Linked DNA regions of Homo sapiens: regions 1 and 2 are each linked to region 3. The links are contacts of gene promoters, found by promoter capture Hi-C in blood cells and fetal thymus (Javierre and others, 2016). All regions are on one chromosome and are shown on one strand. Each heading gives the region's core, a stretch centred on a gene start or on the middle of the fragment in contact. The rest is flanking DNA. Distances are from core to core; before and after follow the strand shown.

Region 1 (2,982 bases), core at 77-2,576, 140 kb before region 3:
GCCTCAGCCTCCCGAGTAGCTGGGATTATAGTCGCCCACCACCATGCCTGGCTAATTTTTTGTATTTTTAGTAGAGATGGGGTTTCACTACATTGGCCAGGCTGGTCTCGAACTCCTGACCTCAGATGATCTGCCTGCCTCTGCCTCCCAAAGTGCTGAGATTACAGGTGTGAACCACTGTGCCTGGCCAATATTTACTATTTTATAACAAATAATTCTCCTTTGCTGTCTCCCTTCCCTGTAATGCACCATGGGTACCAAAAATAAAAATAAAATAAAGATAAAAACGTGAACTTTTCATGATTAGTCAGAGCACCAAACAGACACTCCTAGCACCTCTGTAAAGACTGAGCCAGCCAGACAGAGCCATTCATTCCCACACACAGTCCCCCATCATTCCCAACCGGGCCAGACACATAGCTGACAGCCACTGCAAAACCCACAAGAGACAGAGAAGCATTTGGCTGTACCCCTTCCTGGAGATGTGTTTGTAGCAGCACTGCCTCTGCAGAGAAACAGCTGGGAATTACTTCTTGGCTCCACCCTATCACCTCTGCCCCCAGGGCCCGTTTCCTCACCAGGGAAATCGACAAAAATCCAGACCTTTCAAGGGCATGAAGATGATTGAAAGAGACTGGATTCAGAAAGAGCTTAAAATTGTTTTACCCACAGCACATTTAAGAGCTTGGTAATTGCCGTTAATATCATCTTTATCATCATCATCTAAAACAGTGATCTAGGGAAGAGGTTATAGACAGCAGTGATTCTGAATCGGCAGGACAGGATATTCAACCAAAGATATTTAACCCCTTTCTGATTACAAGGTGTCATGGTCTGAATGCTCATGTCTCCCTCAAATTCATATGCTGGAATCCTTACCCCTAAAGTGATGATATTAGGAGGTGGGGCCTTTGGGAGGTGATGAGATCATGGGGGTTCAATCCTCATTGGGGGAGAGACCCAGAGAGCTAGCAGGTCCCTTCCACCATGTGAGACACAGCGAGAAGGCAGCACTAGGCCCTCACCAGATACCAAGCTTGATCTTGGACTTCCCAGCCTCCAGAACCACGAGAAACAAATATCTGTTTAAAAGCCACCCAGTCTATGGTATTTTGATATAGCAGCCTTAACAGGCTAAGACACAAGGCCTATGCTAGTCCCTTAGCCTTCTGGGGGCCTCAGTTTCCTCTTCCGTTATATGGGGACAAGAATACTACACTATCTATACCACGCTACCCAGGAGGGAAGAGTAACATTCTGAGGGCAGCGAAGCTGGGTCCCCAGGTTTGACTCTCAGTTCTGGGGCCAAGTAGGTGTGCTGAGTTTTCCCCATTGATCAAATGGGGAGGCTGCCACCCACCCTGTGTGGTGCTAGTGAGGGCCGAGCAATGTGGGATTGATGGAGCAGTGAACCCAGGTCCTGACCTATTGCAGGGGCCCTGAGGACATCAGTGCCCTTCCTCTCTCTGCCTCTACTGGGGAGCAGCCTCAGGGGAGTTGGGTGAGCAGGAACCATCCCCAGGGGGCTGCCAATCTCAAGCAGAAGGATACAGCCGAGTGTGGGAACTTGCAAAGTGGAGAAAGTCGTTTGGATCACTCCACCCGCAGAGTTGTCTTAAGCTTAAAGAGGAATTAGCCAAGAGCCCCAAGCTGATAAAGGCTGGCTGTTATTTCTTTTTTTAATCCCCTGAGTGTGGCCATTTGTTGCTAATGAGGTGAGGACAAAACATTACTTGTGGCTATCTTGCATAGGGCAAGTGCAGAGGCTCAGAATGGAATCTTATCTGCTTTCCTGCCCCTCCTACACCCCAGGGACCCATGGAGGGGCTCCAAAGTGGTTCTTGTCTGGAGGGCTTTAATGGCGCTTTTCTCCTATTCATCACGTTCATTTATTGAACTTAGCTCCAGCCTCCTAAGCTTTGAGCTGTCAACACTCTGAGATGAAGACAGTAGACAGCCTTCCGTGGGATTGAGGGGGATCCCTGTGGTTGCCCGGTGTCACCGACTGACCAGCAGGGCTCCGGCTTTGGAGTCAGGATAATCCAAGTGTATATTTGGCTCTGACACTTAACAAATCTGCAGCAAGTTCTCCACTCCTCTGAGTCTGTTTTCCCAGCTGTAAAAGGGAGCTAATAATAGCTCTTGCGGCTAGCGTTGGATCACCCAATAAACCTTGTAAGCATATGCTGAGGGCACACCCACACAGGCATGCACGAGAAGGAAGAATGCCATAGTTGCCATTTCATAAGCACCACGAAGATAAACATCATGGGAAAAATAGCAACTTTAGGCTGGGCACGGTGGCTCATACCCATAATCCCAGCACTTTGGGAGGTCAAGGCAGGAGGATCACTTGAGGCCAGGAATGAGAGACCAGCCTGGGCAACACAGTAAGATCTTATCTCTAAAAAAAAAAAAAAAAAAAAAAAAAAAAAAAGTTTTTTCACTAGGCACAGTGGGCTCACACCTGTAATCCCAGCACTTTGAGAAGCCTAGGCAGGTGGATCACTTGAGCTCAGGAGTTCAAGACCAGCCTGGGCAACATGGTGAAATCCCGTCTCCACAAAAAATACAAAAATTAGCCGGGTGTGGTGGTGCATGGCTGCAGTCCCAGCTACTTGGGGAGCTGAGGTGAGAAGATCACTGGAGCCTAGGAGGTCAAGCCTGCAGTGAGCCGTGTTTGTGCCACTGCACTCTAGCCTGGGTGACAAAGTGAGAACCTGTCTCAAAAATAAAAAAGACTGGGCACGGTGGCTCATGCCTGTAATCCCAGCACTTTGGAAGGCCAAGGTGGGTGGATCACCTGAGGTCAGGAGTTCAAGACCAGTCTGGTCAACACGGTGAAACACCATCTCTACTAAAAGTACAAAAATTAGCTGGGCATGGTGGCATGTGCCTGTAATCCCAGCTACTCAGGAGGCTGAGGCAGGAGAATCACTTGAACCCAGGAGGTGGAGGTTGCAGTGAGCTGAGATCGTGCCA
Region 2 (3,105 bases), core at 346-2,845, 240 kb after region 3:
TGGCCTGGCCAACATGGTGAAACCCTGTCTCTACTAAAAACACAATAAATAAATAAATAAGACTGGGTGCAGTGGCTCATGTCTGTAATCAGCACTTTGGGAGGCCAAGGTGGGCAGATCACCTGAGGTCAGCGGTTCAAGACCTGCCTGGCCAACATGGTGAAATCTCATCTCTACTAAAAATACAAAAAAAAAAAAAAAAATTAGCTGGGCATGGTTGTGCATGCCTGTGGTCCCAGCTACTTGGCAGGCTGGGGCAGGAGAATCACTTGAATCTGCGAGGTAGATCTTGCAGTGAGCCGAGATTGCACCACTGCACTCCAGCCTGGGTGACAGAGTGAGACTCCATCTCAAATAAATAAATAAATAAAAATAAAAAATAAAAAACATGGAGATGGCTCAGGTATGCCGCCGTTTCTTGTTTTCACCATGCTGAAAGGACTAGAGATAGCAAAGGAAGAGAAACAAAATCGCTTTGTATAAAAAAGGGAACTGACATGATTGCTTGTATGTGGAATTGCTGGGCAGATGGACAAGTATGCATGTTCTGAGGTGTGTGTGGAAAGGTCTGCACATTGCCCTCCAAAGGCTGACCCCTTCCAGATGTATTTGCTGTACTCTCTGCCCGCCTCTGTTCTTGCCCCTACCCGCCTCTTTTCCAGCTCCACACCATCCCTCTCCCTCCCACTCTGTCTTCCCTCTCCTCTGCAAATGGCAGGGGTAGGGAAGCTGGAGCCAGGTGTAGCCCACGCACTCTCCCAGGATGGCTCCAGCCCTTGCACCCACCTCACCTGGACGAGGGAGTGGATGGAGAAGGGCAGGAAAGCCTGGGCCTTGTTGAGGATGTTGAGAACTGTGAGAGTCACAAAGGCTTTCTCTGCATTCATAGCATTCTCGGCCACCAGAGTGTGGACAGCAAACACCACCAGTGCGACCTGGGGGGTGGGGGGGACACGTGGGGCAACAGTGAGACACGCAAGCATGGATAGGGCAGCCTGGGCAAGCTGTGGTGCCTGCACGGTCCATGTGGCCCACCCGCCATGTCCGCATGTGCTTCCCTCCGTAGATCCCACTCCCAGTCCTGCTAACACATGTCCTCTCCGCAGTCATAAGCTACATAAGGCTCTCTCTAAAGACACAGCGCATTGCTAATGGTGATGAGTGCGCAGCCCCACGGCTCTAGGCATCACTAGAACCTAGGGGAGAACCTAATGCCTCTAGGTTCCAGGCATCGGGGGACAGCAGAGTTTTTGATCTTGGTAGCCCTGTTGTTCTAGACGTGGTGGAACTTGTGATTCTAGAGTCCCTTGGAAGATGACTCTAAAGTTGCAGGCAGGAGCAGCACTTGAGGGCTCTAGGTGTTGGTGCCATTTGTGGTGCTTTTTTTTTTTTTTTTGAGATGAAGTCTTGCTCTGTCGCCCAGGCTGGAGTACAGTGGCATGATCTCGGCTCACTGCAACCTCTGCCTCCTGGGTTCAAGTGATTCTCCTGCCTCAGACTCCCAAGTAGCTGGGATTACAGGCGCCCGCCACTGCAACCAGCTAATTTTTGTATTTTTAGTAGAGACAGGGTTTCGCCATGTTGGCCAGGCTGGTCTTGAACTCCTGACCTCAGGTGATCCACCCACCTCGGCCTCCCAAAGTATTGGGACGACAGGCATGAGCCACCACACCCAGCCTACGTATCAAATTTTTTAAAACTGTGGTTTAGGAAGGTTGTTCTGACAGCAATATGAAATAAATTACAGAATGGCAGGACAAGGATCACGTCCAGTGACAGGGTGGCTATGGACATCTGCTGGCCAGGATCAGGGAAGTCACTCTGACCCAGGATTCTACCTCTGCCACCCCCCTGCATCTGTACCCTCCTCCCCACATCGGTAGAAGCCTGGAACTCTCTCTGAGAGTTCAGCAGACTTTATCAGCCACTGCCACCTTTGCTAGAATAATATGATTAATTAGTTCTTGTAGAAGACAGCAGGGACCCAGAGAGAACAGGATCCAGAATGAGTGGGTTTTGATGGACGGGGTGGTAGGATCTGGGGGGCTCCACCTACCTCACCCTGCCCCCACCCCCGCACTCCTTCCCCAGTGCTGCTCAGCATAGAGACTAGAGTGACGTCACCAGAAATGTAGACACTTGGAAGGACACCAGCGACACAGAGAAGAGGAGGCCGGAGGTCCGCAAGGCGCCCAGCTCCTGGCCTCGGATGCCCAGGACTCTGTCCAGAAAGGCTCCCTCCCAGCCATGGAACTTGATGGTCTTCGAGTTCCTGAGGATAGAGCTGGTGAGCCGTGCCCGTGAGTCCTTCTGCCTCATTTGCTCCTCCTGGGATCGGAGGGAAAAAGAGAGATGAAGACAGGGACAGTTGAGAACTCTTCCCTGCACCCTGACAGCCACCCTTCAGCAAATCCCATTCATCTCACCAAACTGCGTCCCAAACCTGTCTGCCTCTCAGCACCTCTGACCCTCACTCCTGGTCCAACCACCATCATCCTGTACCTGGACTTCTGCAGGAGTGCCCCTGGGATAATGTGCCCCATGGAGGAAGCCTCTGATGCCCGGAGAACAGAGGCAGCCTGAGCCCACCTGGGTATGACACCATCAGGAAGGCTACCTGGAGGTGGTTGATGCCTGAGCTACGTCTTTTTTTTTTTTTACCTTTTACATTTTTTGTGGAGTTGGGGTCTCACTATGTTGCCCAGGTTGGCCTCGAGCTCCTGGGCTCAAGTGATCCTCTGCCCTCAGCCTCCTAAAATGCTGGGATTACAGCCTGAGCTAAATCTTAAATGACCAGGAAGTGCGTGCTGAGCAGGCAGAGGATGGGGGGATGGAGCTGGAGAAGAGGGAGGGGAGGGGCTTGAGATGGGGGTGGGGGGTGGGGGCTGGGGGGTAGGGGGGTGGCGGGGGCACCTAAAACCCAGGCACAGGGAATAGCATGACTCAGAGGACACTCAGTGTGACCAGAGGAGCGTGTGGGCAGGGTCACTTGGCACTTTAAAGTCAGGCAGAAGAATTCAGGGTCTCCTGTGCTTCACCATGGGGCGGGGGGCATCATCAGAGGGGCAGCTGCCTGGAGAAGGTTTTACTTTTTGAGACCGAGTC
Region 3 (3,259 bases), core at 1-2,500:
TGGGGTTGTGAGGATTGCACAAGTTAATTTGTGTAAATTGCTAAGAACACAGCCTTAGGAAGCCTTGTCACTGTGAATGCATATTAATTTTTTTTATTATTATTTTTTGAGACAGAGTCTTGCTCTGTTGCCCAGGCTGGAGTGCAGTGGTGTGATCTAAGCTCATTTCAACCTCCGCCTCCCAGGTTCAAGTGATTCTCCTGTTTCAGCTTCTCAAGTAGCTGGGACTACAGGTGCCCGCCACCATGCCCGGCTAATTTTTGTGTTTTTAGTAGAGACAGGGTTTTGCTATGTTGGCTAGGCTGGTCTTGAACTCCTGACCTTATGTGATCGGCCCGCCTCGGCTTCCCAAAGTGCTTGATTACAAGCACGAGCCACCATGCCTGGCCTACGATTATCATGTCTCCAGGCTTCAGTTTCCTTACCTCTGAGGTGAGGATCAATAACCTGGTTATTTCTAAGTGATGCTTAAAGAGGTTGAGAAGAAGCAAAGGCGCTCTGCACACAGGTGAGGTCAACAGCTGTTAGTGATGGAGACTGGCGCCGTCTGGGTCATCAGTGCTCCGGAATCAGGCTGCTCACGGGTTTGAATCTCACTTCCACTTTCACTCCTTATTAACTGTGTGACCTCGGGCAAGTCACTTCGCCTTTCTGAACCTCAGTTTCCCCATCTGTAAAAGGTAGGTGAATAACAGTATTCACCTCCTTCTGTGTGACTCAGCTTTGGAGTCAGCGGACCGGGTTCAAATCCCAGCCCTGCAAGTGATTAGCCAGGTGACCCTGGGCAGAGGGAATCACTCAACCTCTCTGCACCTGGGTTTCTTCCTTCATGAACGTGGAGACTTTACAGGATGAAATGAGGGCACAGTTAAGGCGCCCGGTACACTCCAGGCAGGTAGGGGGCTCCGTTCACGTTATTTTCCCCTGGTGACGGATACTGTCCTTAAACAGCATTTGAAAAGTGGTCGCAGGGTGTGTGGCCCCAAAGATCCCAGGCGCTTCCGGAAGGCGAGCCAACGCTCCCCAGGCCCGTCCGCGAGCGGGTGGGCCTAAGCCTTGGAGGATCTGGGGTGGGGGTGGCGCGGGGTCCAGGCCCGGGGCGCCGAGAGGTGGCTGGTCCGGCTGCCCACGCCGAGACGCGCGAGGTGAGCGGGCGCCGGGGCGGGGCGGGGTGGGGCGGGGCCGCCGCATCCCCGTGACGCGCGGGCCAACCAGGCGGCGTTGCGGCCCCGGCCCCGGCTCCCTGCGCCGCCGCCGCCGCCGCCGCCAGCGCTAGCGCCAGCAGCCGGGCCCGATCACCCGCCGCCCGGTGCCCGCCGCCGCCCGCGCCAGCAACCGGGCCCGATCACCCGCCGCCCGGTGCCCGCCGCCGCCCGCGCCACCGGCATGGCGCTCCGGGGCTTCTGCAGCGCCGATGGCTCCGACCCGCTCTGGGTACGTGCCGGGGGCCGCGTGAGGCCGGCGGGACGGAGGGAGGCCGGCGGGGAGGGAAAGCACCGGGCCCGCAGCCGCCCGGGGCACCCCGCTCCCCGCTCTGCTGCCGGCCTCGGGGGCCCGGGACCCTCACGTCGCCCGCGGCCCAGCCCCTTTCGGGGGTGCAAGGCATGGGGGAAACTTGGGTGACTCAGTTCCTGCGGAGCAGAGCGTGGGGGGCCGCGTGCCCAGCCCTGGGGTTTTGGAGGGTCGGGTCGGGTCAGAGCCGCCGTGAGGAGGCCTTCCTGTTTTGGGGTTCCCGTCTGTAAAAACAACCTTCCAGGGAAGGGGACGCTAGAGATGGGGGGCGGGAAGAGGGGTGTCTCTCTGCTTCTGTTTTCCCATCTTTTTTGTGGTTAGGGTCCCCCCTTTTCACGAAAAATACTCCGTGACCAACGGGGTGAGCTGGGGAGGGGCTTAGATTGTAGAAAGGGACTTTCATTGTCTCCCCAAAGTTGTCGTACAAGCCACATTACTCTTCTGTGGTTACCTAGCTTTGTTTTTTTTGTTCTTTCTACTTAGATACTGCGGGGGAAGTTTGGGGGAACCAGGGAAGAAGGGGGATGTCCACCCTTGATGTGCCCTACCTGACCCTCGGCTCGGGGCAGACTTGGGGTGCAGCTGAGGACGCCCAGGACCCTGGTAGCTGTGGTCCTGCCCTCCCTTCCCTGCAACACGTGGAGCTCCTCTCTGGGGATGCCCCTTAGATTTAACCCCGGCAAGTTTTCTTCTGTAACGTGGCCTGCGGAGCCTGACTGGGTGTCTGGAGTCCACTTGCTGTGGTTTAAGCCCCAGTCTTTTGGGCTTCAGCTTCTCCGTAATGCGATTTGCCTCTTTGTTCCAGGAAGGCAGGCACTTCTGTCTCGTGCTGTCTTGATTGTTGGTGAACGCAGTAGGCAAATCTGGACACGACTGTTTCTCTCTCCTCTTTTGTTTAGGAATCAGGAGAAACAGCCTTGGTTCTTAGGAGCTGGTGATCAGCTTCCAAAAATACTTTCTTGTCCTGTTTTGCCGGCCTTTCCTCGAGGGTTGCATTTGGAGTGTTGAAAAGTCATCCTCCAGGGCCCCATTGGAGGGTTTGGTTTTGTTTGTTTGTTTTTTTTAGTAGGGTATCATTGTGTTTAATAACCTACCACACTTTGATATATCTCCCATTTTAAGCCAGTGGGGTTGGAGAGTAACCCCAGGGGTGGAAATAGAACACAGACTTTGCCTTGAGGGTCTGGGGGTGATTGGAGCCTCTTTGCAGATGGACTTTCTTTAGCAGGGGAAAACCTGTGGCTTCCTTGTTGCCAGGTGTAGTAACAGCAAGATTATTTTTTGCAAAGATTCACATGGTGATCTGGGTTTGTGTTGCTGTGAATTCCAGAATATTCTCTTGTTTATTTTCTTCTGAATTGAGGAGGGGGCAAAACAGGGTGAACATCCATGAGGTTTTGTATCAGGACGTATTTTATTGATGGCAATTGGTAGTTGATGGCTAATGAGTATGTTTGGGGTGCGCTTTGTTTATCTTAAGAAACTCATTCACGAAGTCCAGTTGTAATATTTTTTAAAATTTTTATTTTCTTTTTTCTTTTTATTTTTTCCTTCGTTAAGGACTTTCTGCCACAGAAATTGCCAGGTGGTTGGGTTTTGCTTGGGGGTAATTGTAGCTGATCTCTGCCTCTGGTAGGTACCCCATCCCCGTGTTTGACCTTGCGTATTTCTGCTGTCTGGATTCCAAGACTTGTTGGAGGTGCCTTGGAACCAGAATTTGAGAGGAGGCAACTGGGGCCTGAGTGGG

The links. The method cuts DNA at HindIII sites, captures the fragments that hold promoters and counts their contacts. A CHiCAGO score of 5 or more calls a contact.
Region 1: a fragment that was not itself captured here is called in contact with the fragment with the promoter of ABCC1 in region 3 in 1 of 17 cell types (megakaryocytes); the score reaches 5.4 in megakaryocytes.
Region 2: a contact is called between a fragment that was not itself captured here and the fragment with the promoter of ABCC1 in region 3, in 1 of 17 cell types (megakaryocytes). The highest score is 5.4, in megakaryocytes.

The regions. Positions count from the first base shown.
Region 1 is chr16:15,810,146-15,813,127 of GRCh38, forward strand. The region is part of intron 3 of MYH11 (myosin heavy chain 11); the gene reads right to left. Among named protein-coding and RNA genes, the nearest start is that of MYH11, 45 kb to the right of the region's middle. The HindIII fragment of the contact is 584 bases long and covers 1,035-1,618 here.
Region 2 is chr16:16,188,040-16,191,144 of GRCh38, forward strand. It overlaps ABCC6 (ATP binding cassette subfamily C member 6), which reads right to left. Exons shown (of 31, transcript NM_001171.6): 12 at 2,125-2,328; 13 at 792-935. Among named protein-coding and RNA genes, the nearest start is that of ABCC6, 34 kb to the right of the region's middle. The HindIII fragment of the contact is 4,585 bases long and covers 1-3,105 here.
Region 3 is chr16:15,948,366-15,951,624 of GRCh38, forward strand. It overlaps ABCC1 (ATP binding cassette subfamily C member 1 (ABCC1 blood group)), which reads left to right and starts at 1,251. Exons shown (of 31, transcript NM_004996.4): 1 at 1,251-1,434. The coding sequence starts at 1,387. LOC107984869 (a long non-coding RNA gene) reads right to left here and starts at 806. Exons shown (of 3, transcript XR_001752339.2): 1 at 426-806. The HindIII fragment of the contact is 23,517 bases long and covers 1-3,259 here.